Regions from separate parts of the Homo sapiens genome. Here all the other regions are linked to region 2. Evidence: promoter capture Hi-C in 16 types of primary human blood cells and fetal thymus (Javierre and others, 2016). All regions are on one chromosome and are shown on one strand. The core of a region is centred on a gene start or on the middle of the fragment in contact, and the rest is flanking DNA. Distances in the headings are between cores, read along the strand shown.

Region 1 (5,400 bases), core at 2,675-5,174, 450 kb before region 2:
GCGTCCAGCCCTTTCTCGCCGACGTTTTTTCTTGATCCTCCGAAGGCCCAGGGCGACGTTTGCCATCGCGGCTTCCCGAAAGGACGGCGCCGGGTTTGCTGGAAGACAGCTCAGTTTTAGGCATGGCCCGGTGGGGGTGGGGGTGCTCATTTTCTTGGGTTCGGATTCCCTCTCTTTGACCGCACTTATCTTAGCTTTAGGAGATTCTGGCATCTCATAGGAAAAGGGATCAAATTATAAGTGATATACGTCTGGAAATTCAGTAAAAATAGTAGGTTGTGCGTAGTGTTTTTGCCATAGTAGTGAAGGCAGGGATTTCTTTTGTTTGGTGTTCTTGGGGACAAGATGACAAATGTAAAAGTCCCTAAATTAGTGAGAAATCACCAGCCTTTGGATCTACCCCACTTAGGGAGAGGAGATGGTAAAGTGACGAATAAAGGGAAAAGTGACTGAGGAAAGAAAGGTGAGAGGAAGCTGCAGAGGCAGGAGGTGGAGGGAAAGCGCAGATCTGCTGGCGCGGGGTCTGGGGTCTCAGGTCTCGGCCGCCTGGGGAGCGACCTGCCTGGAGAGGCGGGTTGCGATGGCAGCGCTGGGCTACAGACCCCGCCTTATTTGCGGGGAGGAGAGGACGGGTGGAGTCACTTGCCGCATTGCCACAGCCCCTCCTCCTAGTTTTAAGAAGAACCGAAGCATTGTTTCTGCTTTAACAGAAGTCACTCATTCCTTATAATTGAAAACAACGACGGTGGGCTCTGGCACCTCTTTCGGCTCCTTGTACTGTTGGAAAAAAAGTCTGGGAAAACGTGTACCTTGTTTTTTAAATGGGGATGATTGTGATAGCCAACAGGCATATGGTAGGTTATTTCCTTGCTTTTTCCCCCCAGTACATTGACGATTCTTTGTAGCTACTTGAACTCATTTTAAAGACATTTTGAAAGAACTATAAGTCAAGCTATAAAGTATTTGGCTTTTGCAGGAATAAAACACCCCTTTTGAGTCAAACACAGGTCTTTCAGGCACTAAAACCAAGTAGGAAATGAGAAAAAAATTAAAACCAGAAGACTTCAGGAAAGTGACAAATTGGAAAGCATTCTAGAAGACTCATAGGACGACTTTCTGTGAAAGAAGCACTCTAGGAGCTTTAAAAGCTTATGGGCAATTTATATTATAAAAGGATTTTAGGCTCAAAAGTTTTGGGGGAAGGCACAGAAAAAACAGTGCCATATTCTTAAATTGGTGAGTGATTATTTTGTGTTTCTCAATGTGTCTCCTTCCTTTACTTCTCTCCCTTTCCAACTTCCTTGCTTTCTTCTTCCTTTTCCCTCTACCCTTCCCTCGCCTCTTCTCTTCCCCTTTCTTTTACCCTCCCCCAAGGTATGTAAATGCATTTGTCTTAAATTCTTCATGAACGAATTTTAGAGGATTTTTCAGGGTTACCAGTTGGAAAAAGCCTTCTACACAACTTGAAAGGCTGATGTCCCTCTCAGGAAATGAATGAGTCGATAACCTCTGACACCAGTGACCACTCCAGTGAACCTTACCTTAATTCCACTAATACTGGAGGCCCCCAATCAGGCAAGACTGTGAATCTCATAACTATACTGTACAGTGTAGTTCAGTTATGGTATTCCACTTTTCACCCACATGTTCATAAATTTGAATTTCATCAAATTTAACAATAAACAGATTCTGAATCTACCTACATTATTATGCTTCTGGTTTTATAATGATTAAACTGTTTTCTAATTAAAAGCAAACTTAAATGAATATTTTACAAAGCTAAACTATACTGGCCTGTGAATTTTGTGATCATTACTTTTATGTAAGTAATAGCATTTCACCTCAATTTACATGAATACTTTCTGAGATTTTTTTCCTCTTATACCAGATGTTGATTTTTTAAAGTGATTATTAAAATATGAAAAAATATAAATTACTTTCTCGATTTCATATTATGTCACAAGCTTAGCCTGTAATGCCATCATTGAGATTACTTTCTTGTCAGTGTAATCAGTATAATAGAAGTAATTTCTACCATCAAAATAATGCCTAGTAAATGTTTTGTTAGTAAATAATTTTTTCAGAGCTTTGAGCTTTTGTTAAACTTTCAAAGTCATTGGATTTTTGCACCTTTTCTTTTCTCCCTAACAGCTGGCACAGGATTATTCCTCCCAAAATAAATAAAATGAGAAAGTAGCCCTTTTTCCTGAGAAATAACAAAAGGAATAACAGACAAAAAAAAAAATCTTTCCAAATTGATTAGTTTTCATTAAACCTTTTATCAAAAACAGCTGAAAATAACTTCTATTTTTTATACATCCATTTTCCAATCTGAGCCAATTAAATTTATATTTAGTTGTTTAATATGGGGAGGGAGTATAAATAGGTGTATACAGCTTTTTCCATAGCTCTTCGATTCATAATCCCTACATTTTAGCTTGTGTGAAACAGTGCTGGAGTGTGGATGTGTTTGAAGAGACTGGGAGGGGGATTGCTGGCATGGTGGGGGAGGGTCAACTCGGTAGCTTTGTCGAAGGAAGTGGTATCTGAACAGTTAGTTTCTTGGTAAACTGCTTGTTTAAGAAAATGGGGGGTGGGGTAGGCAAGTCTGGTGGTGCATTTTAAGGTTTTAAAATAGCGATATTTTATATTTTAAAGGAAATAAAGTCTTTTTAGTTAATCTATAATATTTATTATAGTATTCGATAAGGGCAGAAATACTGTTGCCAGCATCTTGTAATCAATCGTTTGAACCAGTTTGAAAGGTAAAGGGGGTAGGCATTTTGAAACTGGGGGTCAGTTGAGGAAGGACAGTAGGAGCTTCATCCGTTGTTACATTTTCGTTTATTCAACTCTTCTAGCCATTGGTAGTGGACTTTTAAAATGTCAGGGTACAAGTCAATATGATATGAATTTACCTTTTTTCTCCCACTTGTCCTTCTTTCTCCACCCCACCCCCTGCCCGCGCCGGCTTTTTTTCTCTCCCACCTCTTTCTTTGACTCTGCTGCCGCCTATCCTGGCGGCTCCTCTTCACCTCCCCTGCCTGGCGATCCCCTCCCCCTCCTGCCCTATGTCCTCCAGCTCTTGGGGAACAATCGCCACTGATTGAGGTTCACTCTATGTTAGGCTGGAAAACTGGGCTGTTATTTAGGAAGTCATTAATCACATCTCCTCCCCCGGAAAGAGATGGCAGAGAAACCTGTGAAGTACAATTCCTTACCAACCCCCTCTAAAATTTTCCAAAATGGTTTACCTAAACACAATTTGACTATATGAAGGTGAAAACGATTTTTCTAGTAGGATTTTATTTTAAATTTGAAAAAATTTCGGGCATAATCAGGTAATTTATGTGCCTCTGCCTTTTCCTAGGTGTATGTTTTCATTATCTAAAGTTTCATGGGGATGTAATTAGGTTTAATTAGATCTTTTATAAATTATATATTTTCCTCTAAGAATTGAATTAAATATGAAATTAGCGTTCCAAGCAGGTTTACTGCCATGGAATAGCTGAATTCTTAAGGGGAAAAAAAGCGTTAACATCGGTTGTTTTATTTAAACGACCCCCTCCCATGATTTTAGTCAGGCTTGTGTGTAAGGCACGCGTGTGCACATATATGACTGCCTTTTTTTCTAAATCTATGATTCACAAGGTCCCTCCATTGTGTTTAAGTAGAAGCACGAAATCAGCATTCTGATTTATCCTAAAGAAGCGTTCCAAATTGTCTTTAAGATAACATGTTTGAGTTTTTCGTGTTCATTCATAAATTATTTTGATGTCAGCATAGATGAAATGGCGATTGGTTATCTCTTCCTCTTGCCAGCCCCTTAAGGATACGAGGTGAAATTAGTAGCAAGAAAGCATGTAATTGACAAAGTCACGTGTGCTCAGGGGGCCAGAAACTGGAGAGAGGAGAGAAAAAAATCAAAAGAAGGAAAGCACATTAGACCATGCGAGCTAAATTTGTGATCGCACAAAATCAAGATGTTAGATTGATGCAGAAGATCACTCCGTTCCAAAGGGAAAGTTTTCATCTCACGAGTTTGGAGCTGAGGGCCCGTGGGGCAACATGGCCGAAGGTTAATTTTCTTTTCTATTGTTTTACTGTGAATTTCTTTCTTCTTTTCTCCTCCCCCTCCCCCTCTCCCACCCTTCTTAGACCGTCCCCCCCTTCCCCTTTTACCCCAATACTGGGCATTACCTCCCAACCCCCCATCACGCAGTGGGGCTTTCTGCAAACCTATTGTTATAGATCTCCAAAAATGTTTTGTACCGCCCACACTGATTCACAACTTGAAAAGCTTTCAGGGGGCTATTGTTTGAATTGTGTGAGTGTGATTAAGCGCAGTTTCAGTTAGTGATTCCAAGAAAACTTTTATACACCTGCCCCCTCCCCCATTCCACCCCAACTTTAATTGAAAGTTATGGGGGGGAGGGGAATGCACATTGCAAATAACGCTGGATTCAGTGCTGCCCCATGTGCCTTAACTAGTAGCTCTAAACCATCTTCACGATTTCTCTTTCCTCCTCGTGCCCGCCGGAGAGAATAGTTTCGCTGAAAATTTCTCTTTGTCAATGGGATCAGTATTAAATCAGCAATATACAAGTAAAGTATCGCATGCTGTAATGTAAAATGTGGCTGAAAAATGGAGTTAAATGAATAAGTACACGTATGTATAGAAACGTGGAAGTTGGTGTGATCGATAGAACAGTGTGGCTTCCCCCTCCCCCGCTTTCCTTTTAACCCTTTTCATTTTAAGTATTTTCTGTGGAGAAAAGAAATCAAACCATTAAAAAAAATTTTTTTTTTCTGTTACCCTTCCCCCCCAACCCCAGGCAGGCAATTTTTTTTTTTTAATCTTTGAATGCACATTGAATGGGAATACAGACTGACTTTTTTGTCCTGTTCCTTCTCAGGCGGGGCTAGCAAAGGTGGTGGAGAAGAGCCCGGGAAGCTGCCGGAGCCGGCAGAGGAGGAATCCCAGGTTTTGCGCGGAACTGGCCACTGTAAGTGGTTCAATGTGCGCATGGGATTTGGATTCATCTCCATGATAAACCGAGAGGGAAGCCCCTTGGATATTCCAGTCGATGTATTTGTACACCAAGTAAGCCAAACTTTTTTGTCCCCCTCTTCATCTTTTTCCATGTGGAGGAGCTGATCGGTAGTTATGCCAATAGACGTACGATAAGATGTCCTTCGGTATATTGAAAGACAAAATCTTCCCTGAAATCACTAGGTAGTCCAACGTTTAGGGTACGTGTATGGGCCTTTTCCTGGGTTTTCTGTCTAAAGAGAAAAGAAAATATTTGAAATTTCACTATATATATTAAGGTTGACGTTATTAGCATTTCCCCCTGCTTCATTCTACAGCGAAATAGTGTTCTTGTTGTTTCCGGTATT
Region 2 (4,930 bases), core at 608-3,107:
ACAGTGGTGAAAAACTAACAAGTAACTCTAAAAACAAACTTAAAACTGCACTTATCAAACCACAGAATGGGTAATTCTTTATATTCTGATCCTCAAGAACCAGAACCAAGAGAGTCACCTGGCTTCCCATTACTAGTCTGGAACACTGCAGAGCTAGACTGTCACATGAATGAATGAATGAATGACAACATTCCTACTGCAGAAGCAAGTAAGCCCTATGGTCAGTCCAAATATTTCTCATATGAGAAAAAAGGCCCATAACAGGTAAAAGAGCTGCTAAAAGTCACCTAACTAGTGAATGACAGAACCAGAACTAGCGCTCTGGTCTTTTCATTTAGTCCAGCCTCTTTCTCCATTCCAGCAGGATCACTTTACTCCCATATTCAAAGGAAACAACCTTTAAACCACAGGAATAGAGCTTCTTGAGCTGTTAGGGTAAATTTAATAAGCAAGCAGCTGAGCAGACTGAGAAAACATGGTTACCAGATGGCCACTGGTCAAAGAAACCATGAATGAATGCATCAGTGTCACTTGGAAGTCTTAATTTAAAACAGTATGTCCTTTACTCCGAAGCGTCAGCACCCTTTACCCCAATGTAGCACGTGCTTTAAAGTAAACACTTTCTGGCATAAATTGGGAAAGTAAACAGAAAAACATTAAAACTGTATCACACAAATACATACTTATTCTGATTATATTTTAAGTAATCTGAGAAATGTAGCTATTAGTAAGAGAATCACGGCCACAACATGTGGATGCAATCCAGTTCCTAAGTCGTCAAATTCACGTTTACACAAAAAAGGTGTCTGCCCAGAATTCCGCCTACTGGATCTCAACAGTTACCTTGAGTTCATCTGCAGCTTAGGCAAATGGTGGTCAACTCCGCCACTAGACAAAACTTACTCATTCTGAAAAAGGTCAACCCCTCTCCCTTCTAAGACCTCCTCTCACCCTCTCTCAACTCCTTTTCTTGTTTAAGAAAACATGGATCAGCACGGCCACACTATGGGGTCACTGCTCCGCCTTCCCCATTTCTGTCCGGGTCTCTGGCATCCCCAGGGCCCAGTGCGCCTCATCCGACCTGGGACAGGGTAGGCGCTCAACACACCTTTTAAAATCGAACGAATATGCTTCAACTCTAAGGACTTTAAAGTGTAAGTTTTAAAAGTTTGTTTTCGTTTTTAAATGTGACATCACACACACACACACACACACACACACACAAACACACACACACACCCCAGCGGACACTTTCTCCTACCACCATATTTAAGCAAGAGGCTTCGCCAGTCAAAAAAGCAGTGACACCGTCTGTCTTCCCACTCCCTGAAGACACCCATTCTACCCGGGCGTCTGCCCTTGACCCCATTGATTCTAGGAAGCGGCCGGGCGGCGCTGCCCACAGGCTCCGCCGCCAGCACTAGCAGAGTGACCGCCCGCGGGACCCCAGCGCTGCAGAGGAGCCCCGCGCCCCCGGCCCAATTCTCCCAAACAAAGGCCGAGGGGGAGGGGAGGGACGCGGGGGTCGAAGGCCTACAGGAAGAGGAGCTGCGGGTGCCACGGGTCAGGCAGGCTGGGCACCTTTGCCCGGGAGCCCTCTGGGCGGAGGCAGAGATACTTACGGCGGTCTCGTCGCGGTACACGTCGGGGTACTGAAGGGACAGCATGGCCGGGGACAGGCAGGGGGCAGCGTGGAGGGGCGCGGGCTCCGGGAGCGGACCTGAGCTAGCCGGGCTGGCCGCGAGGCGCGGCTGGGGCGCAGGCAGCTGCGGGGCGGCCGGCGGCAGCGGGCGGCCGGCTCACGGCCAGAGCTAGCACAAACGGACTGGCGGCGCGGCGGCGAGGACGTGCAGAAAGCAGGAAGCCGCTGTCTGCGAGGCCGGGAGCCCCTCCCCGGCGGGCGGGCCCAGCGGCGGCGGCGGCGGCAAGAGGGAGCGGGCGGCACCGAGCGTGCGCTAAGGCCGGCGCACAGCTCCCTCTGCAGGATCGCCGGCCGCGCCCGCGCCGCCCGGGCGCACGGAGGAGCACGCCGGCTACGCGCTCGCCCACGCCCGGCCGCCCGCCCGTCCTCTGCGCCGGGGACAAGTCCTTCCACCGAGGCCGGGTCCCCGCGCCTTCCCTAGCGCCCTGCCTCTCTTTGGCCGCGCTCGCAGGACCGCCTGTAGGAGAGTGAAGCCCCAGGGTTTCCTTGCTGATGGAGTCCCCCACCTTCCCCAGCCTTCCTGTTCCCGGGCTGGTTACGGCGGCGAAGGGAGACCTTGCCTCTCCCCAGCCTTGGAAGCAGAGGGCTGGAGGTGGCCTTATGTCCACTGCCTGCGACTCTGGACTTGAAGGGAAGAAGTAATCGATCATGATGACCGTGAAAGAAACACGTCTCCCTTCATCCCAGGACCCCTGGTGGACACTGGGTGGTTTAGCATCCGGACTATGGAGATGCTTTGGAGGTGTTGGCAGGACTACGGTTGAGCCCTTATTTGATATTTACCGATTGAGAAAGAACCAAGATTAAGAGGCCTGGAACTCATCAGGGGTATTTTATTTATCCTGCCTTTTCCTCATTTCCTCTCCTGCTGTCATGCTTGTTTATTGAGCACCTACTGTTTATGGGAAGAAAAGATAATAGACAAGATACTTGACCTCAAACCCATGAAAATTTAATAGTTACATGTCATCATCCTCGGGCCAGCAGCGGTATGTGTTCTGGTCTTGCTTCCTGGACCACCCAGAAGAGACTTTATAGCCCCAGCCATCAGGGGTATAGTGTGTGCCCAGTGTGTTTTCTATCCCTGGCTTCCAAAAAGTCCTGGAAGAAAGAATAGGTGTGACCAGAAAGTCCTTCACCTCCGGAATCTAAGTGGATATGGTAACTATTATAAACTTGTGTCCTCCGTCTCTTTTGTGATATGGTCCCAATTCCATGCCTCACCCTTAGTTCACCATTTCTGTTCATAGTGATGTGTCATAATCATTTTCTGCATCTGATCCCAGATACCCCCTCCTGGGGCAATCTGAGAATCCTCAATTCTGGGAGAACTCACGCTATTGATAACAAACTTTGTGCAAACACGGGGGCATAGCCCACTACAGCCCAGAAGTCCCAATTCCAGTTCCCACCTCGTGCCTTCCCTGGCTGTCACCTGACGCAGGGACTGGCAGGCATTGTCTCCTCCTTCTGCCACTGTGAGGGATTTTTTAAAGAGCAACCCAGGAGCACTTGACCCAGCAGACCCCCTAATGATAATATTAATGCTTATGGAGTGTTTTTTTCAGTGTATCAGGAAACTATCTAGAACTAATGTCCCTATTTTATAGTTAAGGAAAACGGGCTGACTTTTGCCCAGGACTTCACAAAAAGTGAAAAAGTAGAGCCAGGATTCCAACCTAGGTCTCTCCAATACCAATGCTCATTCTTAACCACTCTGACGGCCTTCCTACTCATAAATAAGTAGAGATACTCTAGAGTCTACAGGGCACCCATTTGCAGGGAAAACTTCAATTTAGCAGGACCTAAAGAAAATGTGGGAATTGTGGTACCCAAAGGACAAATCAAACCTAGGTATCATCCTCTCTTCCCTTTCAGTCAGCCGTTCTGGTGCCCAGTTCCTCTGGGCCCTGAGAGGTAAAGGTTTGTAGTGGCACAGACAGTGCAAGAGGCTCCCAGCAGTAGGTTGTCTGCATCTGGAGTGAGATGGAGTGGGAGGGAAGATGGGAGAGCACCCTTTCCCCTCCTATTGACCACGTTAGTTGCACTTTTGTTTGCCAATGTGTTGTCTCCTTTAATCCTTATAGCAAAGACCATTTTACAGATGAGGAAAAAGAATCTCAGCAGCTTTAAGGGAATGAGTTCAAAGTCATCACACAGCTAAGACAATACAAGATTCATATTCATAAGTTGACTGCAAAGTCAACTTTTTCCATAGACAATGCAGAGAAAGGAAGTATTTGAACTATCTCAGAATGGAAGTGCCACCTCCAGAATAAATACCAGAGCACTCTTTGACCTCTGACACTGTAGACTGTTTTCAGGGGAATTGTAGAATTTACACTGTGATAACTCATGCTCTAATTCAGAACCCTAGGCCTTTGGGAGAATGAGGGTGAGCAGAGACATAGAAGGACTTCCAGGGCAGCCTTCAGCCTCTCCTCTGACCTCAAACTTTGTGCCCCACTCAGTTAAGAAGAGTCACCCTCTGAAGAAGGCAGGCTAGTGATCATTTACTGCTGCTTGGCTGTCTCTACCCCACCTCAAGTTGCTTATCAAAGCAACCCCCACCCACATATGGTCTCCAAGAGAGGATTTCTGGTAAATGCACAAGGATGCCCACCCAAGGGGCGAAGTGGGGACTGAAATCCATCTCACTCTCCACTTGCCACACTGCAGACAGGTGCTGGCACATTCACCTGGAGGAAGGGGTGTCTTATTCTCAAGGGACTGCACCTTCCTGGGTAAAGGATATTTTTCTAATTCACACAAGGGTGCTGTCTTGTTAGCACCCCTTAGAGATGGATGCTTTGAGTGCTGCCTGGATAATCCACCTTTTAATTTGACTCTGGTTTCCAGGTAGCTAGCTAACATACTGACTAATTGGTGGAGTGCAGTCATTTCACACTATGTTTCCCCAAAGATTTATGTTGCTTTTTCCAGTGTGACTTTTAATGGAAATTCTTATGTATTCTTGTATATCTAATCTTTGCAAGGCATCATGAAGTGTGAAATAGCACCTAGGATAAGAGTAAGATTCTCTTTCAGGCTCTGTCACTAACTGGTTTCCTAACTTTGAATGAGTCCATCATATCATCAATATTTTTATTTAGAAATTGAGACAGTTGGGTTAGGTGGTTTCAAAAGAATCTAAGATTCTTTAATTCTGAGTGGGAACAGGAGATACAGGAACCTCAAAACTAACTCTGAATTAAGAATAAGATTATC
Region 3 (4,941 bases), core at 2,178-4,677, 290 kb before region 2:
AGACCAACTCCCATCCCCCCCGCCACACACACACACAAAAAAAACAAAAACAAAACAAAAACAAACAAAAAAAAACAGGAGATTAAATTCTTGTATGAAAGGTGATCTCCCAAAATATTAAAAGGAAAACAACATGCTTATCATCAAGGACAAGATGTCGAGGCAGAGAGAATTCTGTACAAGCCTTTATTAAAATAACTCGTCTTTAAGTCTTCCAACACAATTTAGTTGCCTTTTCATAACTTACTATTCTTTGTCCAATTCACTATAAACTGTTTAATTGCTTCTTTAGGTCTTCATTTCCTTACAAAAGCTTCTGTGCCATGTAAAACCTGTATGAGCTTTTAACACAAACTCATACAACTTGTATTAAATTTGTATCCTTTTCTCTTGTTAATCTATCTTATGTCAATTTAATTCTCAGGTCCAGCCAAAAAACAACCCTAAAAAGGAAGAAGTAAAGTTTTTTCTTTCCTACACACCAATTATATGGCCTTGTAAATTCCAGCCTCTCCTGACTATGCAATACTTAAAATCCCTAATATAATTTATCTAAAGGCATACAAAGTTACAAATCATTTACATAAAGAATTGTTGAATGTGTTTGCATTTTTTAAAAGTTAATTTGGTTTAAAATACAATTGGAAATATGAATAGTTTTTAATTCATGCAATGGAAGAATGTCTGCCTTTTTGCTATTTCATATGAATTTGTTCAAAGTTTTTATACCATCATTCTTAGAATAATTCTTAAAGTATTTAATTCTTAATTTAGTTTTTCTCATTTTACTTACTAATTTTCAACATCTGGGTTATTTGTGTTACTTAAAATGTTTTGAAACAATCTAAACTATGGAAGAATACCGGAAAATGTGCCTCTTGGCAGGCGTGTGAATGAGGTAGCTCACAAGGGTGTTGAGTGATCTCCTTCATCTTTGGGAATAATCCATTTCTCAGTCACTTTTTAACTCACGGCACTCATACTGAGATAACCAGCCAGCAGCAGAACACCCAGCATTTATTTGTCTACCATTTAGTAAAACATTTCTGGGTCTAGGCTTTCACTCTAACTAAAGTCATGAAAGTAACAAAGCCAAATGGCAACAAAAACAAACAAAACCAAAGCAAAAAAATCAAACCATGTGGACTCTTAGAGTATTCTGGTGAGCCACTATTTTTTATTTTTGAGACGGAGTCTCGCTCTGTCGCCCAGGCTGGAGTGCAGTGGCGTGATCTCAACTCACTGCAAGCTCCGCCTCCCAGGTTCACGCCATTCTCCTGCCTCAGCCTCCCGAGTAGCCAGGACTACAGGCGCCTGCCACCAAGCCCGGCTAATTTTTTTTGTATTTTTAGTAGAGACGGGGTTTCACCGTATTAGTCAGGATGGTCTTGATCTCCTGACCTCGTGATCCGCCCGCCTCAGCCTCCCAAAGTGCTGATCTGCCCGCCTCAGCCTCCCAAAGTGCTGGGATTACAGGCGTAAGCCACCATGCCCAGCCAGTGAGCCACTATTTAAGCAAAGTATATGGCAAAACCAGTGAACAATTTCAATTTCTGAAACAGAAATAATAGTTCTAAAGTTGGCTTTTAGCTCATATGCAATATGGGGGAAATGCTAAACAAAATTTGATTGTTTTTATTGTTACCTTTAGGTTGCCTTTCAAATAGTTACCTGCAAAGTTATTTTTCTAATCAAAGTTGTCATTTGTCTATGTCCAGAGATACCCATCAGAACTCTGGAGTAGTATCAGTTTTGGGATAACTTACGAAGAGAGGACATGCTGGAGGTACCCCGAAGAAACTGGTGCAAGCCGTCGTCACTGTCACTGGAGCTGGCTATACTGTTCCTCATTTCCAACATGGAGATCTGTGTGCAGAGGCTGAGCTGATGTTCCAGCTTTTTGGCTTTCTACAAAGCAAAGTTTTAAGCTTTCTGAGAATTATGGGAGTTGAATCATACATTCCATTTAAGCAGCATGTACTTTTCCTAGAAATACGTTAGTGCATTTAAAAAAAAGAATACCTGATACATATTAGGTGGCCAATAAACATAAGCTATGATTTTTATTATTAGCTATTACTATAAATATATTATACAAAATCAAATATACTTAGTAGCCTATTTATAATAAGCTAAATAATTAACTGAAATAAGCACCAGCTTAATTTGATAAACAGTCCAGATAAGATGATTTTGAAAGGGCACATATACTCAATTGTCACTGGGTAACAGTACTTATCACAGAAACGACGTTTTTAAAAATTCTCTCTTGTAATCATTTTAATTTCTTTCTAAAAAGATACGGGAAAATTAAGATCAAATTGCAAATTGCTGAAGATCTATGCAGCTCTACACCTCTCCTTTCACTTTCTCGCCTGACCTGAAGATATGCAAGACTGGAAGACAGCAGGGTTCAAAGGCCAACTTCCTGATCGCTGGGGTCTGTCAGCCTTTCTCTGTCTGCAAACCTCCAGCTGCCCTGTCCTCCCTAACTTACTCCATCCTCCACCCCCTCTTACTCCTTTACCATCTTCCTTAAAATGCTCTTGATGAAGAGGGTGCCTTATCACCATAAATGCTAGTCCCTGACAATTGTAGACTCCTTACTAAGTAACAGCAAATCTAATCATTACAAAATACTTTCTCCTCTCAAGATTACAAGTATCCCCAGTACATTTAACATATGGCTAGTTACTAAAAATTCAGGAAAACATATTTCATAAAGTGAAATATACCTCATATACATATTTATTTAACAAAATAAACTCAGAGAACACTTACTTTATCATTTAAGGTGGGATCATTCAATGAGTAGAGCTTATTTGTGATGTCTTTTCCAATAAGATACCTAAAGATTTCATACAAGAAAGGTTCTGATTCCAGAAAGTATGTTAATCTTTCTCTTGACCAGCATAAAAATCTGCAGTTATCATCTGCAATAATGGTGACCTGCCAAAGAAACAAGCATGCAAAGAATAAAGTACATCTATGTATATGAATTATGACTATAGTGATTTAGAAAACTAGGAATGATTTAGTGGACATTATCATAGCAATGATTTGTCAAATTATAAAAAAAAGGAGACTCAATGCACACAAGCTTCTACACGTATAAAATTATGTTTTTTAAAAAAGCAATCTGCAGACTAAATAAAAGCAAATTCTCTGTGTTTCCTTGTTGTTTTGTTTTGTGAGGTCTGGTGACAGAAGAATGGCCACTGTATTGATACCGCTGCTGGAGCATGTATTCAACTGAGGATGCCACTGGACATATGACTTACATGAAATATTTCTTTACACCCTGTACATTACAATGAAGTTCAAAAATACAGCTTCAAGCAGATGAACTAAGATTCATGAGGCAAGTTGTGAAAGACCTTCTGCCCATCCATCTCTGCAAATATACACTAAAGACTGAGAAAACTTCAAGGGCCCTCGGCTGTTGCTGATGAATACGGCTGGTGAGGGTCCTTCTGTCATAGGTGTTTCTCGAGTGTCACATTTCAAGGTTAGATCCAGGGTAGCCCATTAGAGATATTCACAGACATCCCCAAATTAGCTCAGAGCTGGAAATCATACCCCCTTTCCTTCAGTATTGTATGTAGGAAAGCAGAAAGGTACTATAACTGCACGAAACAGAGCTCAAGTATCCCTCAAATAAATCCCTTTGCCAGAGTGAGGGGCCATGCCCTCACCATTCAGTGCCAGGAAGCCCTTCTTCCCATGTTAACACTTCCATCAGTTAACACAACTGCAAGCTTCATTATGGCTTAAATCCTATCATTAAATCCAAGCTCATCAGCTGACACATCTGCCTGTTCCAAGCACTGTGAAGGCAGGGATTGTGTATCTTCACGTCTGTCTGAATGCCTGACTTCCAACATGGAGTGGTGCTTAATGCATGACTGTTGTATGAAGGACTTAAGCAAATGAACACACAACATGGCAAAACCCTGGCTCTATAAAACATACACAAATTAGATGGACATGGTGGCATGTGCCTGTAGTCCCAGCTACTTGGGAGGCTGAGGTGGGAGGATCACCTGAGCCCAGGAAGGTCGAGGTTGCAGCGAGCCATGATCACACCACTACACTCGATCATACAGTGGCAGCAGGAGACCCCTGGGTGACAAGCGCGAGACCTCATCTCAAAAACAAAAACAAAACAAATGAACACAAATACCGCAGTAGGCAAAAACCAATGTCCATTAAACTGACATCCAGTCCTATCTGAGCCTCAGAGCAAATGTTTCTAAAGAAGCTCTGTCCCCTTTGTCACAAAAGTAAACACATTTCAGAGGACAAGGGGATATGTACATCTACCAAGACAGAAAATGAAAAACCCAGCTTGTCTCCTTACTTCAACAAGCTGAAATCTGATTGCTGGCAAATTAAGAATGTCTGGCTACTTTAAAAAGTGGTGTCAACATTCCTAGGAAAAAAAGCTTGTGTTTATTTATTATATCAAAAGTAGGAATTTCCAAAACCAAACGTATTTGTTTTTAAGAAATGCATCAGCATCTAAGACTTGATGAAACACTAAATTTCATTCATTCTTTCGATACATTACTATGCATGTACTTTATGCTAGATACTCTTCAAGGTATGAAGTTACAATGGTAAATAAGAAAGACAAGATGCTTGCCCCATGAAGCTTACATTCTAGTGGAGAAGGATGATAATTAATAAAGAAATATGACAATTTCAGGTGGCAGTAAGTGTTTTGACAACTATAGAACAGGGGAAAGTGGTCGAGAATGACTGGGGGTGACAATAGCACATAATGCCACTCACTTTGTATATGTACTTTTAAACTTTAAGGTGCTTTCATATCTATCATGTAAGTGGATCCTCAAAAATCCGTTTAAAATAAGACAAGTAATATTCTTCCCCATTTTTCAGATGCCAAATGAGAAGGACCAAAAAACTCACAAACACATA
Region 4 (5,457 bases), core at 1,110-3,609, 300 kb before region 2:
CAGGTACAGGGCGAAAGTGAGAGCGAGAGCGCACGAGAGAGTTCAACCTGAGAGAGCTTTATAATTTCAAGCCTAGGCTGTCATTCACCTTTGCTTCATTTCTCCAAAACAAGCTCCTAATTTAGCTACCTGAAGAGACTGCTGCAGCAGTACAGTGAAAGCAGCCTTTTTTTGAAATAGGGTCTCACTCTGTTGCCCAGGCTGGAGTGCAGTGGTGTGATCTGTGCTCACTGCAACCTCAACCTCCCAGGTTCAAGTGAACCTCCCACCTCAGCCTTCTGAGTAGCTGGGACTACAGGTATGTACCACCACACCCAGCTAATTTTTTTTGTAGAGATGGGGTTTAGCCATGTTGCCCAGGCTGGTCTTGAACTCCTGGGCTTAAGCAATCCACCCACCTTGGCCCCCCAAAGTGCTGTGATTACATGTGTGAGCCACTGTGTCCAGTCGACAGTAGCCTTTTTACTGTGATGTCAATAAACCAACATCTGAAGATGACAGGAACTGGATTCAGAGTCTGTGTAAATTTTCTCAATGAGTGACCGAGCATGTAAATTTAACTCAAATGAAATTACTACAATAATTGCTTTAAAAACATATTTAGGAAAATGAGGTGACCCTAGATGAGCTTATTTATATGTCTCCTCTAACAGAAATCACCTCATGGTAAGAGTTGCTTCTTTTGGCTCAGTTCACCTGAGAACAACTTCATTTGGAACTTTTCTTAGCCATTTAACGTAACAGGAGACTGACTCAAAGTTGGTTCTAGTGGATGAAGCAAAATAGACATGACCAGCATGGCCAATCAATGAGCTTCATTCAACGGAGCGTCCTGGCCAAGTGCCACAGCCACGCTGGCCAGACACACTGACCAGTTACGCATTTCCCACCAGCCAAATGCCACTGTTTACTAAACCATGATTTCAGTAGGAAAAAGAGCTCTGGAATCAAGGCCCTCACTGCAGTACCTGGGTGGGGTGTCCATGGCCTGGCCTGTAGTAAACCCTCTGCCTTCCACTGTGTTCACGTTCGCAGCTCTGGCACTGGGGCATCTGGCACTTTTTTAAAAGAGATGTCTCTGCCTCTAGATGAACAATCTGGAACTTCAGAATACAGATCAAAGAATGAAGCAGATCTTTCAGTGGCCTCATCCTGTGGCACCTGCCCAGCCATTTAACTCCCCTGTCCTCCCACCCTACATAAAGTGTTTCCCACACCAGAGTGTGCACAACATGGTGACTCCAAATCCCAAGGAAGTTGAGTTTAGCTGGAGGTTAACCCCGTGCTCAGAAACCCATCTGTTATCTTTCCAGCTTCAGGTTTCAGAGCAGTTTATAAATGGCATAATACAAGGGTAATGTGAGTAAAATCTGAGAGTTTTGTTCATTATCAAGTTATCCACACAGTGCCCAATTAAGTAAGGTGATCTAGTGGAGTAATACTTCTGGCCTGGGAGAAAAATAAAACCAGTCAAATCACACCTTTCTCTAAAATGTCCCATTAAAAAAATATGGAATAGGCCGGGCGCGGTGGCTCACGCCTGTAATCCCAGCACTCTGGGAGGCCAAGGTGGGCGGATCACGAGGTCAGGAGATCGAGACCATCCTGGCTAACACAGTGAAACCCCATCTCTACTAAAAATACAAAAAAATTAGCTGGGCGCGGTGGCAGGTGCCTGTAGTCCCAGCTACTCGGGAGGCTGAGGCAGGAGAGTGGCGTGAATCCAGGAGGTGGAGTTTGCAGTGAGCTGAGAATGTGCCACTACACTCCAGCCTGGGCGACAGAGTGAAACTCCATCTCAAAAAAAAAAAAAATTATATGTATGTGTGTATGTATATATATGTATATATATATATATATGTATGTATGTATGTGTGTGTGTGTGTGTGTGTGTGTGTGTGTATATATGGAATAAAGTTTGAGATTCCCTGCTTTTTCATGTTACCTTAGCCTCAATTTTAAACTTACATTGTTTGTTAAAATTATCAAATGGACAACCTCATTGCTATGGAACAAAAAAGACTGTGAGGAAAAAGAATCATAACTTGGAAAAAAATAAGTGAAAAGGCATTGAGAGATTGCTAAGATTTGTTAAGTTAAAACAATAATATATCTAGAAAAGACTGTGAAAATATATATCTCAAAAGAGAACAAGGCATAGTCAGAAGGCTCAGTAAAACAATTACTTTAAAAGCTGACTAATAAAAAGGGTAAGTGAAAGAACTCTTCCATCCTTGACCCTTCCTCACTTCCTCCCTCCGACTCCACCAGTCTGGATGCACTAAAGCAGAATAACCTAAAAGCCATGAAAAAGTGCTGGTATTTTTCAGGATCTCTTCAAGACACCTTCCGTCTTGGTAACCTGAATTCTCTCTCTGATCAAGGCAGCTGATGGACTTTCAATGTATTTGGAGATGCCGGTTCAAAAACGTCATCATCATCTTCTGCTCCTTCTTCTATCGGTTTCATCTTGGCAGAGGCTCGCTGGTGTGGGGATGACACATCTGTGGAAAGATACAGGAGGGAAAACCACTGAATGCACAATCTACCCAGACCCTGGTGTGATATATCAATTATAAATTCCAACTGGAAAATAAAACTGTAGGAATCTATCACTAGCAGCACCAAGAACACAATTTCCATAAACCATTCTATTTCAATCCAGCATCTCAATAAAATAACCAAGTCAAGAAGAGACTCTCAGTCAGGAGCACAGATGAGGGACAGATTCCACCGCATGTGCTTGGATGATCTGAGCTTCTCAAATATATTCAGTTCCCAGGGGTTTGCCCCACAGTCTGCTTAGGACTCAGAACGCATGTTCCTACATTAATATCATACATGGGGGCTTGAGTCTCATATTAGCCCTTGAAAGTTGATTTAACTCCTAATTTCCCCAAAGAATACTTCTATTCCAAAATTATGGAACCTAATCACCATCTGTAATATCACCTAAAACATTTCTTGCCTCCACCATGGAGTCCAGCCACCCACTGGGCTTACACGCAAAGGAGACAGGGGAAGAGGAAGAAAGGCCAGGCATTCAGGAGGGACAAGCCAAGTAGAGGAAACGCAATCCCAGGCAGCAGCAGGAGAAAAGGCAACCCCAGGGCCTTTTAGGATGCCATTTAATCAAAGGAACCAGGCAGCAATTCATTCATTCAGTCACTCACTGGTTCATGCATTCACCAAATGGTTATCAAGCATCTACCATATAATGGATACCATGCTTGATGTAGAAGAAAATACTATCTAAAAGTAAGAGTAGAAGTCATTATCAAAAGGCCTCTCAAGGTGCCTAATGAGCAGCTAACGTGACTGCATAAACTCCCCTCCTTACAGTCACCACCATCACTGTCAGGATCCATGTTGTCCGGGTTTCCACCTGCTCTGCCCACACCCATATCTTCGCTACCCAATCACAGGGTGGAGTGGCATTCCGGCAGCCCACAAATGCTGAACTCAGCTGGGGAGAAGGTTGATGGTGGAGGGATACCGGGTGAAACCTGGCTCTTTAAATACATGCTCACAGCAAAAGCGAGTGGAGGATCTATTAAGACATGAAGCAGATCTGCTACAAGATGACCACAGAAGTTTGTCAAGATCAGCTGTCATTCACTGGCAGGAGTCAGGAGCAGACAGCTGGGTTGGCCAGCACAGGGAGAATGCCACAACCAGCAAGGAGGGCCAAGGGCTATGAGCATGTCACACGGCTGCTCCTGGAGGGAGGCTGAGACAGCGGCAAAGGCTTTGCCCTGGCACTCAGCCATGAACGAGTGGTCATTCCTGGCCCCTGGTATGGCACAGGGGGAGGGAGCATGCAGAGTGGTCAAGACCAGAGGCTCAGCAAACAGTTCCAGAGTTCAAATCCCTACTCTGCAACCTGCACTCAATTACTATACCTTTCTAGGCCTCTGTTTCCATATCTATAAAAAGGGGATATTCTTAGGATCTGCTCCATGGGATTGTTAGGAGGATTAAACAGAATAATGCATAGGATGTACTTAGCAGGGTGTTGGGCCTATAGAACATGTGACTAAATGTCATTTCTTATTAACTGTACAGTCACTGCCGTACATCTGGGGAAATGCTACCACCAGTCACATCCTCTAACATAAAAAAATATGCAGGGCTAGACTGTGGTACAGCTAATGTATACTCGCTGTATATATACGGAAATTGTTCACTTACAGACATTTACAGCAAAAATACTGAGTCTCTTGAATGACAACTATTGACATAAACTGTAGAAAAGAAGCATCTAATAAAATGGTCCAAGAACCCAATTCTGCACAGGGCACAGCATGGGAAGTTCTCAGGCGAGTTCTTCCCCTTTCCCATGCAGGTGACATCAAACACACGAAACACAACCTCTACTTCAATGTCTATTCAAATGGCAATGAATTCTATCTGTGCGACCTTGGACAAGTTACTTCTTTGTGCCTTAATTTCCTTACCTGTAAAATAGGAATAATAAGAACAGCACCTATTTCATATGGTTGTTATAAGGATAAAACAACTTGATATTTGTAAAGTTATTAGATCAGTGCCTGGGATGTAATAACCACTTTGTAAATATTTGTAAGAACATAAAAATCAATTACTATGGTCTTTGGAAGGCTATGGACTTAATAATGAGAAAATTTGTTAAAATTCATCATTGCTCATAAGAATGGCCAATAAAGGAAATGGGCCTTGTGCTCAAATGTGGGTTTGTGTTTCTCAATCTTAGCTCTCTTGAGTGTGGCAAAATTGTCTTTAAAAAAAAAAAAAAAAGCCCTGGTTTCCATCATATTTTTAGCCTTAAGTTATCATTGGGTCTCATAAATATTAACTTAGGCTGAGTATCTACAATGAGACAAAACTCTCAGAACAAACAATAAGATGGCATGTCTAAGAGCATTAAATCAAGTCAATAATATATAGTATATAGACATAATTGTGTAACACGCTTAACAGAAACATACCCAGTTTATTCTGTCTGAGGAAGTAGGACTAACTGGTTTCTAGTTTTTAAGCTCATCTATCATACCAGGAAGGACATCCTACAGTTATATTGAGGCAGGTATCTATACTCTGGAGCCACAATGGTATCTGACCCTCCCAACTCTCTCACCTATACTTTGCATTTTTTTTCACTGAGAGAAAATGAAGGGAGGACTCAACACAAATGGAAATGGTTAAGTGAGAACTTCCCAAGAGCTTTCAGCTTTTCTGTGAAAGAATTTATTCTGCTCCCACCATATTTGCTGGGGCAGAAGAAGAGCTATGGAACTTACTATATAACATTAAAAGGATAATGAGAGTGATTCACAATCCTTAGGGTGACATCCAGGGTTCTCCAAGTTGGGTCTCCCTCCCTCTTCCAGTCCAAGCTCTTGCAAACTCACTGCTCTTCAAATCCAGCCCATCCTCCTCTTTTCCTCTTGCCTTTTTTCCCTCTACTTGGAATGGTTC
Region 5 (5,527 bases), core at 1,176-3,675, 460 kb before region 2:
AACAAAAAAATTAGGCGCTTGTAGTCCCAGCCACTCAGGAGGTTGAAGATGGATTCTCACTTGTGCCCAGGAGGTCGAAGCTGCAGTAGCTAGGAAGGTACTATTGTACACCAGCCTTGGCAACAGAGTGAGACCGAGTCTCTAAAAAAGGGGAGGTTGGAAATAAGGTAAAATAAATTATGACCATGGTCCCAGGTAGAGGGATTCACTTTTATAAAGAAATTGCCAAGGTTCACTTTTAGAAGGAAATTGCCAAGGTCAGGCATGGTGGATCACGCCTGTAATCCCAGCACTTTGAAGGGCCAGGTGGGCAGACTGCTTGAGGCCAGGAGTTTGAGACCAGCGTGGGCAACATGGTGAAACCCCATCTTTACTAAAAATACAAAAATTAGCTGCGTGTGGTAGAGCAGGCCTGTAATCCCAGCTACTTAGGAGACTGAGGCACGAGAATCCCGTGAACCCAGAAGGTGGAGGCTGCAGTGAGCCAAGATTGCACTACTGCACTCAAGCCTGGGGGACATAGTGAGACCCTGTCTCAAGAAAAAAAAAAAAACCTGAAAAGAAAAAGAAATTGCCAAGAGCCATACGTAAATGATAAATTCCTTTGTTCTTATGGCTTTTCATTCATTTCTAATCATGCTAACATACTCCTTAATGCTTAGCCTATCAATGTTCATCATCGCCCCTTTCGGGTACCTTATATGAAATAATACATTAAATATTATAATGTCCCATTTTTTATTTGTGTCACAGGAGCATGATGGCATGATGATAACTAGTTTGAAATCAAAAAAAAGGATGAACTCTTGAGTGCTGGGATACTAACCCTGGGTTGTGTTTTAATTTTTTATTTTCTGTTTACAATTCTTCTCAGGACTTTAAATAGGTATTGCATAAATATACATCACACTTAAATGCTGAAAGGCTTACAAAATACCTAGAAACATAGCTATTAAAAAAAACAGTTCATTCTGTAAGTGCATTTGTAAGCTCTACTCATAAATAAAAAATTACTATAATGCTTTAAAGTCAAAGCATATCACATTTCAGATGGTGATATAATTAATTGCTGTTTTTCATTTCTAGTAATCAATGTCCACATCTTTTTCCTCTAAATTATATTTGAAATCATAGTGTAAATTGATACAATGATTATAACTAAGAATTGTATCTGAAAGAATCCTCTGTACTACTTCGCAAAGTAATGTAAGAAATACTTTACATACTTGCCAGTGAAAAGGCATCTTTAAAGTAAGTGGTATTCACTCCACTAGCTCAATGGAAAGTTGAGCAGCCATCCAGGGAATTTGCTGAAGGTGGTAGCCAATGTGGAAAATTCTTAGGAGGGGTCACAACAGGATTTTGCTTCTGATCAGTTTGTCTGCATTGATCTCACTCCCAGGCCAGAGATGCTTTTTTCTAGACTGTGGTTACCCTTGATAGATACATTGGTTTCTTAATCCCAATCCAGAAATTGGAAGGGAGAAATGTATCATCACACAGCAACGGTTTGGAGATTTGCCTTTTAGTCATACAATAGTAGCCAGTGAACTGGCCTTTATTAGTTACTTTCAAATGAAAGTGTTTTCATTTGAAAAGTTTTCCACTTTTAATTTGATTTCCTATATTTTAAATTTTTGAACAAATTTTTAGTTTGCTGAAATATTTAATCCCTTTAGTCAGTTCCACAGAACAGTCCAGATTACAAGGCGATATTCGATTTTTTAGCTGGTCAGATAATGATTGACTAGTACTGTTTAGTTCTGAAAGTCTGATGAGAAACTACCCAAAGTATAAGAAAGAACTATAAAATTATCAGGTAGAAAATTATAGGAGAGAAAGCAGTGATATTTTGGGAACATATACCAAAATACCAAGCTAAATATGTGTATATATCACAGTATTTTTGGCCCCAGATCTTGTGGCTCTTTGAGTGATGATGATTAAGTTTGTATCATCCAATTTGACGTTGAGTATCTTATTGTTTAGGAAAAGAAACAGCTGACAGTAGGTTCCCCAAACTTCTGGCATTGTCTACCATGCTCACTGGATTCTGAAATACATGACTATTATTACCTTGAATTGTGCTGTTCGGAATGATGTCCAGGGCATCTGTAGTAAAAGAAAAGAAGACCTGGGCTTCAGATATGATTTTGTTACCTTCTTACAGTTTTACCGCACCAAGGTGTCAGGTTGGGGAGCAAGGAGTAGCATCGTCCCGCCTCCCTCCAGTCGCACCCTAGGGACCGCCATGTGAGCTTCCCTCCCAGACTGACGCTGCGCGCGGAGAGCCGGGAGTCACAGGCCCAGGCACTCGCAGCCTCCACCAGAACAAACGGCGGCAGCGGCCGTGCGCGCCCACGGCCTGCGCGGGGACGCGCTTCGGGGGTTCGGGGGCGCCCGCGGTAAAGCTCCACCGCGGCCGCGCTCGCCCGCCCGGCCCTGGAATGAATGGAAGGTTCAATCTCGCGCGCTCGGCGCCGGCAGCCAATGACGCGGCCGGTAGCGGCGGCGGGCAGGTGTGCGCGTGCCGCCGGCTGACGCAGGGCTCCAGTCGAACCGCCTGGTGCCGCCGCCGCGCCCCGCGCTCCCCCACCCGGCTCAGCCCCCTCCTCCCCGCGCCCCGCCACTCGCCGGGCTGCGGCGGCGGAGTGGTGGCGACAGCGGATTCCGTGCCCGGTGGCCGCGCGCCGCCCGGCTGTTCCGCGTCCCCTTGCCGGCTCACAATGTGCTGACCCTCCCGGCCCCGCCGCGCGCCTCACAGGTCTCTCGACCTCCGCGCTCCCTCAGGAAGTGACAGACTCCAGGCCCCTTCCTCCGCCCCGTCCTTCGGGACTGAACGCCACACACGTCCTCACACCCTCTCCCCCTCTCACACCCAGGCTAGCGACGCGACCATGAGGCCCCGGAGGTAAGCAGCCGGCCCCGCGGCCGCGCGAGTGCGAGCGTGGCCGGGTGTGCGTGCGGGTGCGGACGCCGCTCGCGGTCCCGAGTCTGGCACGTGAGCAACGTCGAGGGGAGCTCCGTGCTGAGGAGCAGGAAGAAAAGAGGAGGCGCGAGCGCCAGGGAGGGGCGAGGACTGGGCACCGCGGGGAAGTGACAGGTCTCGCAGCAAGTTGCGGTTCGGAAGCCGGCGCGCCGCGTCTTTCCTTCGCCGGCCCTGATTTATTGCCCCGGTGCTGCCGCTAAGACGCGGGCAGTCGATGTACTTCCGGGTTCACACCTTTCTCTCCCCGCTCGGTGCTGCTGGGTCGGCGCCCGGTGTGGGCACTGCGTTGCCACAGCGGCCGCCCAGGCTCGCCGCTGCGGTTGCTGCCGGGCGGCCAAAGCCGGCTTGGAGCGGGAGGGCGGGGCGGGGCAGGGCGGGGGCGCAGGCCACGCGGGGGCGCAGGGCGCGAGGGTGCGGCGCAGGCTGGGGTCCCGGCGGCGGGTCCTCGCGGCCGGTGCCGGCTCGTCTGGGACGCACGGGGCCGCGCCGCCAGAGGGCGTGCGCACCTCCCTTTCGCGCTCCGCAAGCCGAACTGCTTTGTACCGGGCAGGCGTCGGGGATCGTTTTTGCTTTGGTATCGGTGATGTAAATTCATGAATTAAAATTAAGGATTTTGAAAAGAACGGGGAAGAACGCACTTGGATTTAGGTTGTTTTTGAAAAGGAAAAACCAAAGAGGAAATGATACGTTTGCAGGAGCATTAACTGACTACTGACTGGAACATTGGATGCGGGTGCTTTGTGAAGATTTGTACTCCAAAAACTTTTTTTAAAAATTGCACGTTGGTAAATATTGAGTGTTTTCGAGTAAAATCTAACAGTATGTATTTAGTGCCCTTATTGCGGAAATTTCTTAAATGTAAGTAATAGTAAGTCCGCCATTTTGAATTGTTTCATGTAACACAGAATGAAATCTTAGGTGCCTGTGTTTCCTTGAGTTCCCTTCAGTTCTTTGTGGGTTTGTTTTCATCCGTAGGTTTTTAAGGTTGCCAAGTGTCACTGTTCATGGAACTAAATTCTCCACTGTAGATTTTTATACCTATTATTGTTAATGCAAGGGGAAAATAAATTATACTCCTATTCTATTGTAGTTTTTTATTTATCGATCACAAATACTGTGGAAGTGAAAATTACACCTGACAACTAGTATTAGAATGAATTTAAAACGTTTTACAACATTGCTGGGAAAATATGACTTAAAGTGATTTTTAATCAAGAAAATATTAATGTTTCTTTTTTTGGTGCTGGTTATTACCATATTTACTTAGATAATGCAAAAGTGCTTTTTTAAAAAGCACATTTTTACGTCCAACAATAAGTATAAAACATCACAGTTTTATGAAAGCTTTCAGGGAAGATTTGAAAGTTAAGGGTGAATTCTTGGAAATATATGCCAATTTGTATGAAAAAATAAATTTGCTATGAAATTTATGCCTTTTTTTCTTCTGCTGTGAATTTGCATAGATTTTATAGAGGAGTCATATGATAAATTAACAGAAGAGAATGTAATAATCAGTATTCCATTTTCAATAATAATTACACCCTTGTCCATCTTAGGGAAGGTTCTTGCCTGCCAAATTATTTATCTTTGCATGTATGAAACACAGCAATCCAGTGTGCTTAATTTCCTACAGAGCTTTAGAAATGAAACTGACACAAGGCCTCTTCTACCAATGAATAAAAAAGTTTTATTTGACTTTTCCATTTTACAAGTAGGATCAGCTAATCTTTGCTTTACAATATAAGGTCATAAAAATTTAAGGAATTGGATCGGGTTGTAATGCATATTGGTTTTTGGTAACTTTATAGGTGCTTCTCAATAGATCTGGAACTAAATGATTCAATAATTATATTCTCATTAATCCTTGTCAGACTGTATGGTGTCTTACTATGTATGTTCTCTGCTAGACTTCAGAAACAATAAAAAGTTTGTTGTGAAATTAGTCAAGATTTAAATTTAAAAATCGCTAGGTTGTGAGGCGAGGTATGTCAATCTTATACTTTGTAAGGGAAGCAAATCGAGATTTAAAATAGTAGTGCTCAAAGTTAGTCTTCAGAATAACTTGTTTTTAAGTTTATTGCACATATAAATCCCAAAATACGGTGAATTTAAGTTTGGCTTTTTTTTTCCGGTTTACTCTGAAGAAAGAGAAGATTAAATAGATCTTACCTGCCTAAAAGTTTGATAATGCTTGGTATCTGATCTGGTAACATGATTAGGGTTTTGTGACACACTGCTGTCATAATTTACAAATCATGATTAAAGGAAGAAAATAAGTTATTAAATAAAACATGTATGAATAACAGTCTTCAGGTGTGAGTGATGTCTCTTTAAAAATAATTGAAGCGCTAGGCACAGCTACCAAATTTGGGGACTGTATTAGCAAGTTCAGGTCAGGAAATGATCTATAAACATTTATCTTAATCCAAAGTTGCATTGATTTAAAAAATGAAACATGGGCATACAGGGATGAATCAATTTAGAAGTAATTAAATTATTGATTATGAAAGTGGCGTTACAAATTTTTGGACAACTAAA

What was found. The method cuts DNA at HindIII sites, captures the fragments that hold promoters and counts their contacts. A CHiCAGO score of 5 or more calls a contact.
Region 1: the fragment with the promoter of LIN28B here is called in contact with the fragment with the promoter of PREP in region 2 in 1 of 17 cell types (fetal thymus); the score reaches 5.9 in fetal thymus.
Region 3: a contact is called between a fragment that was not itself captured here and the fragment with the promoter of PREP in region 2, in 1 of 17 cell types (endothelial precursors). The highest score is 5.4, in endothelial precursors.
Region 4: a contact is called between a fragment that was not itself captured here and the fragment with the promoter of PREP in region 2, in 5 of 17 cell types (megakaryocytes, endothelial precursors, total B cells and 2 more). The highest score is 11.2, in megakaryocytes.
Region 5: the fragment with the promoter of LIN28B-AS1 here is called in contact with the fragment with the promoter of PREP in region 2 in 4 of 17 cell types (fetal thymus, erythroblasts, megakaryocytes and 1 more); the score reaches 13.9 in fetal thymus.

What each region holds. Positions count from the first base shown.
Region 1 is chr6:104,953,183-104,958,582 of GRCh38, forward strand. It overlaps LIN28B (lin-28 RNA binding posttranscriptional regulator B), which reads left to right and starts at 3,925. Exons shown (of 4, transcript NM_001004317.4): 1 at 3,925-4,078; 2 at 4,917-5,104. The coding sequence starts at 4,069. RefSeq lists enhancers at 2,938-3,875, 3,876-4,813. The HindIII fragment of the contact is 2,336 bases long and covers 1,963-4,298 here.
Region 2 is chr6:105,401,225-105,406,154 of GRCh38, forward strand. It overlaps PREP (prolyl endopeptidase), which reads right to left and starts at 1,858. Exons shown (of 15, transcript NM_002726.5): 1 at 1,623-1,858. The coding sequence starts at 1,667. RefSeq lists a silencer at 1,566-2,135. The HindIII fragment of the contact is 7,847 bases long and covers 1-4,930 here.
Region 3 is chr6:105,113,920-105,118,860 of GRCh38, forward strand. It overlaps POPDC1 (popeye domain cAMP effector 1), which reads right to left. Exons shown (of 8, transcript NM_001199563.2): 6 at 2,782-2,949; 7 at 1,767-1,908. Among named protein-coding and RNA genes, the nearest start is that of POPDC1, 21 kb to the right of the region's middle. The HindIII fragment of the contact is 658 bases long and covers 3,099-3,756 here.
Region 4 is chr6:105,098,710-105,104,166 of GRCh38, forward strand. POPDC1 (popeye domain cAMP effector 1) reads right to left here. Exons shown (of 8, transcript NM_001199563.2): 8 at 1-2,504. The coding sequence ends at 2,380. Among named protein-coding and RNA genes, the nearest start is that of POPDC1, 36 kb to the right of the region's middle. The HindIII fragment of the contact is 8,172 bases long and covers 1-5,457 here.
Region 5 is chr6:104,938,102-104,943,628 of GRCh38, forward strand. LIN28B-AS1 (LIN28B antisense RNA 1) reads right to left here and starts at 2,426. Exons shown (of 3, transcript NR_046407.1): 1 at 2,277-2,426; 2 at 2,077-2,112. It also overlaps a transcript of LIN28B not described here. RefSeq lists an enhancer at 2,648-3,482. The HindIII fragment of the contact is 11,740 bases long and covers 1-4,331 here.